Linked DNA regions of Homo sapiens: region 2 is linked to region 1. The links are contacts of gene promoters, found by promoter capture Hi-C in blood cells and fetal thymus (Javierre and others, 2016). All regions are on one chromosome and are shown on one strand. The core of a region is centred on a gene start or on the middle of the fragment in contact, and the rest is flanking DNA. Distances in the headings are between cores, read along the strand shown. Region 1 holds the start of CLEC6A (C-type lectin domain containing 6A). Region 2 has its middle 6.5 kb from the start of AICDA.

Region 1 (4,241 bases), core at 420-2,919:
AATATAGAGAGTTTATTTGGGCAAAGGATGAGGACAGCTACCCAGGAAAACACTTGTAGGTTGCCTTGGGAAGTGGTCTAGAGAGCAAAGGAAAGACTGAAGATTTTAAAGAAAAAAGAATGAATCTGAAAAATCATGGAACCATCCCAAATGCTCATCAATCAATGAGTGGATAAAGAAACTGTGGTATAGATATACAATGGACCACTACTCAGTCATAAGAAGCAATGTATTAATAGCACTTGCACTGACCTGGATGAGATTGGAGACTATTATCCTAAGTGAAGTAACTCAGGAATGGAAAACCAAACATCATATGTTCTCAATGATATGGGGAGCTAAGCTACGATGACACAAAATGTATAAGAATGGTACAATGGACTTTGGGGACTTGGGGGGAAGAGTGGGAGGGGGATGAGGGATAAAATATTACAAATATGGTGCAGGGTATGCTGCTTGGGTGATGGGTGCACAAAAATCTCACAAATCACCACTAAAAACCTTACTCATGTAACCAAATACCACCTGTACCTCAATAACTTATGGAAAAATAAAAATTAAAAAAAGAATGAATCAGGAGAGGGAGTGAATTAAAAAGTTACTCATCAGTAAATTATCATTGGTTTACAGAAACCACATTGATTAGTAATTAGCTGTATACTGTTAAATTTTAGGGTTCAGTTAGTCTAGAACCTACATAGCAAATGGCTTCAAGAGGTAAATTTCGTGCAAGGTGGCAGTGAGGCATGACTCCTGTCATATCTCTCTCATGAGTCCACTCTGGACTTGATAGTTTCAAGGCACTCACATTCCTCAAATAACAGTTTTTTTTTTTTTTCGTTCTCAGCACTCCATAGATTTATGGCTGTTTGTTAACATACTATTTAAGCAAGGCCTGTAAGCCACTGCCATGAAAGAGATAAATACATTTGAACTGAGTTCTCTCCTGAGTGATGGGTATAACACACATTGATAAACTGCTGCTTTTTCTCTTGTTTCTCTGCCTTTTGTTTTCAGGACAGTGTCTCTACTAAGAATCTATGAGGACAAGAAAACATCATATATTTTCTGTGCTACAATATAAAATTCATGAAGCCTGTTTCTGATTTTATATCACTTCAGGCTCCCTTTTGCCTAATCAGGGAGATTACAAAATATCACTGACATCTGCCCAATATTAGTCTGGATGCAGTAAGAATGTTTCATCACCTTTGCAGACTGATTTCAGAATGTTTCATTTTGCAGTCACATTCCTTAACAATGTTCATGGGTTTTGTTATTTACTATGTTACCCTTCATATCTAAACCATATCCATCCAATCAAACTTTTGCTTACTACCTAGGACACTGTTCAACACATGGATTAAGGCTTGCATAAAATAAGCAGCCAATGTAAAGGTTAGTTAGGGAGCACTTAATTTAACCAAGTTCTCTAAATAGATGTCTTTTAGGAGATAAAAAATTTTCTATTTTGCATGCCAGAATGAATAGGAATCAGACAGAGAAATTTTATGTTAGAAACTGAAGAAATGATCTAAGTATTCTTGTCAAAGTTCTCATGAATGGTTTTCAATGTTTCTCAATTCCTCTTTTGTTTTTTTTAACCCCACGTATCGAAATCACTGGAAACTTTAGTTGTAATTGTGACTTCTTCTTTTGAGGTACACTTAATGTTGGAAGTCTCTTAGTCCTATAAGAGTGTGTAGCAGTTTGTCCCTGAGCTCTAGCTTCTTTAAATGAAGCTGAGTCTCTGGGCAACATCTTTAGGGAGAGAGGTACAAAAGGTTCCTGGACCTTCTCAACACAGGGAGCCTGCATAATGATGCAAGAGCAGCAACCTCAAAGTACAGGTGAGTATTTCCTCAGTTTCAGAGGAAAGTGGAAGTGTATGGTGAAATGAGATCACCTGGAGAGAAGAAGTAGCCAAAGAACAGATTGAAGAGCTAGTGATTGGACCAATATAGTAGACTCAAAGGAATTTGAAAGAAAGAGTAATTCTTCAGAGCCAGAGCCATAAGCACTTGAAAGAATAAGAAAGCAAATATTTTTTGGGAGGTTTGTACCAGATTTTATTGATAGTTTAGGGAGACAGAAAAGATTTACATGATAGAAGGTAAACAGGGAAATAACTGATTATTGGATGTCTGCTCTTCAAAGTCTTTTGACTAATTTTGAAATCCAGGAAGCAGTACTCTTTCCAATTACCCTAAGTTTTTTTGTACTTGCTTTTCTAATTTTTTTGTAAGAGAAAAGCTTCCCATTTTTAATGCATGAAAATTTGACTTTAGCTTCAACCCTTTGCATGTCCATCAATAATGTTTTAAAAAAATTTTTATTAAAATTTTTTATGGATACAAAATAGTTGTGCATGTTTATGGGCTCCATGTCATATTTTGACACAAGAATATGATGCGTAATGGTAAAGTCTGGAAAATTACATTATCCATCACCTCAAATATTTATCATGTCTTTGTGTTTGGAACATTCCAAATCTACTCTTCTAGCTATTTTGACATATGCAATAAATTATTGTTGGGTTAGGCTCAGTGGCTCACACCTGTAATCTCAGCACTTTGGGAGGCTGAGGTGGGTGGATCACTTGAGGTCAGGAGTTAGAGACCAGCCTGGCCAACATGGTGAAATCCCGTCTCTAATAAAAAGACAAAACTTAGCTGGGCATGGTGGCATGCACCTGTAATCCTAGCCACTCAGGAGGCTGAGGCAGGAGAATCACTTGAACCCAGGAGGTGGAGGTTGCAGGGTGCCAAGATTGCCTCATTGTGCTTCAGCCTGGGTGACAGAGTGAGACTCCATGTCAAAAAAAAAAAAAAGTTAACTACAGTTATCCTGCTGTGCTAAGGGACACTAGATTTTATTTCTTCTAGCTAATTGTATTTTTGTAGGTACGAAACAACCCTTCTCTATCTTCTCTTCCCAGTTAACCTTCCTGGCCTCTGGTAACCACCATTCTATTCACTACCTCCATGAGATCAATTTTTTTAACTCCCACATATGAGTCAGAATATGCAATGTTTGTCTTTCTGTGCCTGGCTCATTTCACTTAACACGATGTCCTCTGGTTCCATCTGTGCTGTTGCAAATGGCAGGATTTTATTCTTTTTTATGGTGGAATAATATGCCATTGTATATATTATACTACATTTTCTTTATCCATTCATCTGTTGATGGACACTTAGGTTGCTTTCATATCTTGGCTACTGTGAATAGTGCTACAATAAACATGGGAGTGCAGATATCTCTTGGATATACTGAAGAAACCAAATATCAATACAGAGATATGAGAAATGGGAGACAAAAGTGATGTTTTGAGAAACGAAATCAATGGAAACATGTAATAGTTTAGAAGAAAGAATAAAGACATGGAAATTCCAGTTGGTTGAGTGTATGTTTTACCTGTATTCTTTTGGACCACAGAGCTACTACCTGGTTATTTATTCTGAGGGAGTTTGTAAGCTGTCTTCTTGCTTTAAGTTTTTAACTGCTCTGAGGTTCTTCATCTAGTTTGTTCATTGTTGTAAGCTTCCTGGGGATTTTGGCTCCCTGGCCCCCTGGTAACTGCATTTGTTGTCTTCCTGATTGGACAGAGAAAAGAGGCTGGTTGTCCCTGAGACTCTGGTCTGTGGCTGGGATTTCCATTGCACTCCTCAGTGCTTGCTTCATTGTGAGCTGTGTAGGTAAGTTCTTCACTGAGGTGCATTTTCCTTGCTTCCTTTCCCTTGAATATTCCATACAGGTTTCCTAGGATATATTCTCCTTTGCCCCATTAATACGTCAGCTCTTACTTGGAATGCCACACTTTCCTTGATTTCTCCTTTTCCCTTTGTTTTTCTCCCTCTATCTTTTGAAAACTGAATTCTTGTAGATGTACTTTACCTGGTTTTATTAGCATTTTCTGAATCATGGCCTCACATATCCATGTTGTCCATTGTAGCCATCATCTAAGACACCATCTTTCAGGACTGGATTCACTAGTAATTGTGTGTTCCCTGGTGACAAAACTCTTGTATTGGGAGTGCAACTCTAATTGCTGTCATAATTGTCATATTCTATATTAGATTCTTTGATTCATGTGCAGATCCTTTCCAATGTGAGAGGAAAAAGTATTCAAATGAAATGATGGAGATAAAGAGGATAAAATATTTCTTCCCTGTTCTGCTTGCCTCCAAATACATGTCTCAAGTTCATTGTGTGAGAAGTCTTAAAGACCTTTTTCCTCTCCG
Region 2 (4,577 bases), core at 153-2,652, 160 kb after region 1:
CATATAGTAGTTCTAGTTTTAGTTTTTTTTTTTTGGAGAAACCTCCATACTGTTCCCTATAACGGCTGTGCCAATTTACATTCCCACCAACAGTGTACAAAGGTTCCTTTCGCTCCACATTCTCACCAACGCTTGTTTTCTTTTGTCTTTATGGTAATAGCCATTCTAACAGGTGTGAGGTTAAGAGATAGGAAAAAATAAAAATGTAAAATGCAAACCCAATAATAGGGGCCAGGTGTGGTGGCTCACATCTGTAATCCCAGCACTTTGGAAGGCCGAGGCAGGCAGATCACCTGAGGTCAGGAGTTCGAGATCAGCCTGGCCAACATGGTGAAACCCCGTCTCTACTGAAAAAAAAAAATACAAAAATAAGCCAGTTGTGGTGGCAGGCAACTGTAATCCCAGCTACTCGGGAGGCTGAGGCAGGAGAATTGCTTGAACCCGGGAGGTGGAGGTTGCAGTGAGCAGAGATCGTGCCACTGCACTCCAGCCTGGGAGACAGAGTGAGACTCCGTCTTAAAAAAAAAAAAAAAGAAAAAGAAAGCATATAATAGGAAGAACTGACTATTTTTTCTTCCACCTTCACATACCACTCAACACAGCCCTTCTGACACCAGATGTGTGCCGGTCTTTTCCCATACACCAAGCAGTTTTCCAGTGGACATCAACTGGGTGTTCTATAATTTAATTCAATTCTGGCATTATCTACCTGGAGATAGCATCAGACCTCACAGATTGTGGGTCAGTCCCACAAGATGGACCCCACTTCAGATGCCAATCTCAAATTTCAGGTTGTGACCTGTACTTCTGATCAACTGGCTTAGGGGTTCCTACAACCCATGCCTTGGGTTCCATTAATTTGCTAAGCTGGCTTAGCAAACTCGGGGAAACACTTACTTAACTTTTAGCAGTTTATTATGCTAATAAAGGATATAATAAAGCATACAAGCCAGGTGTGGTGGTGCATGCCTGTAATCCCAGCACTCCGGAAGGCCAAGGTGGGCAGATCACTTCGGGCCAGGAGTTTGAGACCAGTCTGGCCAGCATGATGAAACTTCCATCTCTACTAAAAAAACACAAAAATTAGTTGGGCATGGTGGCTCACACCTATAGTCCCAGCTACTCAGGATGCTGAAGCATGAGAATCGCTTGAACTCAGGAGGCAGAGGTTGCAGTAGCTGAGATCGCACCACTGCACTCCAGCCTGGGTGACAGAGCGAGATTCTGTCTCAAAAAAAAAAAAAGTTACGTATGAACAGCTCGATGAAAGTACAGAGGGTAAGAACGGGAGGGGTCTGAGCACAGAAGCTTCTGTCCCCTGGAGTTGGGGTGTGCCACCCTCCTGCTACACAGATATATTTACCAACTCAGAAGCTCTTTGAACTCCATACTTCAGGGATTTTTATGGAGACTTGATCATGTAGGCACGATTAATTATTTACTCTATTCCCAGCCCCTCTCGTCTCTCGGGAGAATGGGGAGTGGGGCTGAAAATTCCAAGCTTCTAGTCATGACTTGGTCTTTCTGGGGACTGGCACCTCTCCTAGAGCCTACCAGGAGTCATCTCATTAGAACAAAACAAACTCCTGTCATCCAGAAATTCCAAGCTATTCGAAAGCTCTGTGTCAGATGCTCTTATCACTCAGGAAATTCTCAGGGCTTTAGGAAATCTGTGCCAGGAACCAGGGGCAGAGACCAAATATATATTATTCTTATTATTTCACAGAGATGATATCTCACTGTGATTTTGATTTGTATTTCCCTCATGATTACCGTGTTAAGCACATTTTCATACACTTGTTGGACAATTGTATGTCTTCTTTTGAGAAATGTCTATTCAGGTCCTCTGTCCATTTTTAATTGGGTTATTTATGTGAGAATAAATATGATTTAAAAGCTGTTCGTGGACCAGGCGCGGTGGCTCACGCCTATAATCTCAGCACTTTGGGAGGCTGAGGTGGGCAGATCACTTGAGGTCAGGAGTTCGAGACCAGCCTGGCCAACATGGTGAAACCTCATCTCTACTAAACATACAAAAATTAGCTGGGTGTGGTGGCGCATACCTGTAATCCCAGTTACTCGAGAGGCTGCGGCAGAATTGCTTGAACCCAGGAGGCGGAGGTTGCAGTATGCTGAGATCACACCATTATACTCCAGCCTGGGCGACAAGAGTGAAACTCCATCTCAAAAAAATTTTAAAAAGCTGTTGGAACCCCAGAAACACTGTAAGCCTTGAGAGAGATGTGACTGTGATCTGAGTCACATATGGTTGCAACATCTGCTTCTCAAGTTATAGACTAACCCACTTCCTTATTTTTCTTGTCCTGTACAGTAACTAGAGAAAATTAAATGACCTCAAGGACAAAAACCTCCTGCCTTGTTAATTAATGACCCTTATCATAGATTAACTTCTCCTTTGTCGTCTTGCTTTGCCTAGACCAGATGACAGAAAACATATGACTATTACAACATCTGCAAAAGATGCTATATGTACCCTTCCCAAAAAGAAACACTGCCTATAATCAATCAAATTGTTATAACTATGCACCAACCTTGTATGAAAAATGCTGTAAGTGTGCATAAACTCCTGTGTCTCTGCCTATATAAATGATACTTTAACTTCCCTAGTTCAGAACACTGACTCCATTTCCTTAGAGTTGGTGTTTCTGAATGGACTGTCTTCAAACTTTGTCCTTGAATAAACTTTATTTAAATTAGATTCTGACCCTTTTGATTATTTTAGGTTGACATTTTTTTTTGGTACTAAGTTGTATGAATTCCTTATATATTTTGGATATTAAACCCCTGTCTACCTTTTTTTCCTTTTTGAAACAGGGTCTCGCTCTGTCACCCAGGCTGGAGTCCAGTGATGCAATCACAGCTCACTGCAGCCTTGACCTCCCAGGCTCAAACAATCCTCCTGCCTCAGCCTCCCGAGTAGCTGGGACTACAGACACAAGCCACCATGCCCAGATGATTTTTATACTTTTTTTGTAGGAATAGAGGCCTCACTTTGTTGCCCAGGCTGACCTTAAACTCCTTGGCTCAAGTGATCCTCCTGCCTCAGCTTCCCAAAGTTCTGGGATTATATGGCATTAGCCACTGCACCTGGCCGGACATTAACCCCTTCATCAGATATATGATTAGCAAATATTTTCTTCTAACCTATAGGTTGCCTTTTCATGTTGATGATTGTTTTCTTTGCTGTGTAGAAGCTTTTCAGTTTGATTTAGTCCCACTTTTTATTTATGCTTTTATTGCCTATTCTTTCGGTGTCATAGCCAAAAACATCATTGCCAAGGCCAACGTCAAGAAGCTGCCCATTCCCACTCCCATTTTCTTCTAGTAGTTTTACGGTTTCAGGCCTTATTTAAGTCCTTAATCCATTTTAGTTGATTTTTGTGTATGGTGTAAGATAAGGGTCCAATTTCATTCTTTTGCATGTGGATATCCAGTTTTCCTAACACAATTTATTGAAGAGACTATCCTTTCCCTACTGTGTATTCTTGGTACCCCTGTTGAAAATTAGTTGACTTGTGGGGTGTGGTGGCTCACGTCTGTATTTCCAACACTTTGGGAGGCCGAGGTGGGTGGATCACTTGAGGTCAGGAGTTCAAGACCAGCTTGGCCAACATGGTGAAACCCTGTCTCTACTAAAAATACAAAAATTAGTCAGGTGTGGTGGCTCATGCCTGTAATACCAGCTACTTGGGAGGCTGAGGCAGGAGAATCACTGAACCTGGGAGGTGGAGGTTGCAGTGAGCTGAGATCATGCCACTGCACTCCAGGCCGGGCAACAGAGACTCTGTCTCAAACACATACACACACACACACACACAAAGAAAATTAGTTGACTTTGTATGCTGGAGTTTATTAGGGAGTTTTCTATTCTCTTAGTCTACATGTCTGTTTTTATGCCAGTACCATACAGTTTTGACTACCATAGTTTTGTGCTATAATTTGAAATCAGAAAGTATGCCTGTAACTTTGTCCTTCTTTCTCAAGATTGATTTGTGTATTCAGGGTCTTTTGTTCCACACAAATTTTAGAATTGTTTATTTCTTTGAAAAATGGAATTTTGATGGGAATTGTGTTTAATCATTTAATCTCTATGTCCCTTTATTTAGTATAAACTTTTTTTTTTTTTTGAAGGAGTGGAGTGCAGGCTGGAGTGCAGTGGCATGATCATGGCTCACTACAGCCTCGATTTCCGAGGTTCAGGTGATCCTCCCACCTCAGCCTCCTGAGTAGCTGGGACTACAGGTATGTGCCACCATGCCCAGCTAATTTTTGTATTTCTTGTAGAGATGGGGTTTTGCCATGTTGCTCAGGCTGGTCTCGAACTCCTGGGCTCATATGATCTGTCTGCCTTGGCCTCCCAAAGTGTTGCGATTATAGGCGTGAGCCACTGTGCCAGGCCAATATAGACATTTTAACAATATTAACTCTTCTAATCCATGAACACAGGATATCCTTCCACTTATTTGTCGTCTTCTTCAACTTCTTTCATCAATGTTTTATAAGTTTCAGTGTATATATCTCTTACCTCCTTGGTTAAGTTTATTCTTAACTATTGT

The links. Contacts are between HindIII fragments. The CHiCAGO score rates a contact against its expected background, and 5 or more counts as called.
Region 2: a fragment that was not itself captured here is called in contact with the fragment with the promoter of CLEC6A in region 1 in 3 of 17 cell types (M1 macrophages, M0 macrophages and monocytes); the score reaches 7.8 in M1 macrophages.

What each region holds. Positions count from the first base shown.
Region 1 is chr12:8,454,293-8,458,533 of GRCh38, forward strand. CLEC6A (C-type lectin domain containing 6A) reads left to right here and starts at 1,670. Exons shown (of 6, transcript NM_001007033.2): 1 at 1,670-1,850; 2 at 3,606-3,695. The coding sequence starts at 1,820. The HindIII fragment of the contact is 4,980 bases long and covers 1-2,251 here.
Region 2 is chr12:8,617,028-8,621,604 of GRCh38, forward strand. No RefSeq gene overlaps it. Among named protein-coding and RNA genes, the nearest start is that of AICDA, 6.5 kb to the left of the region's middle. The HindIII fragment of the contact is 193 bases long and covers 1,307-1,499 here.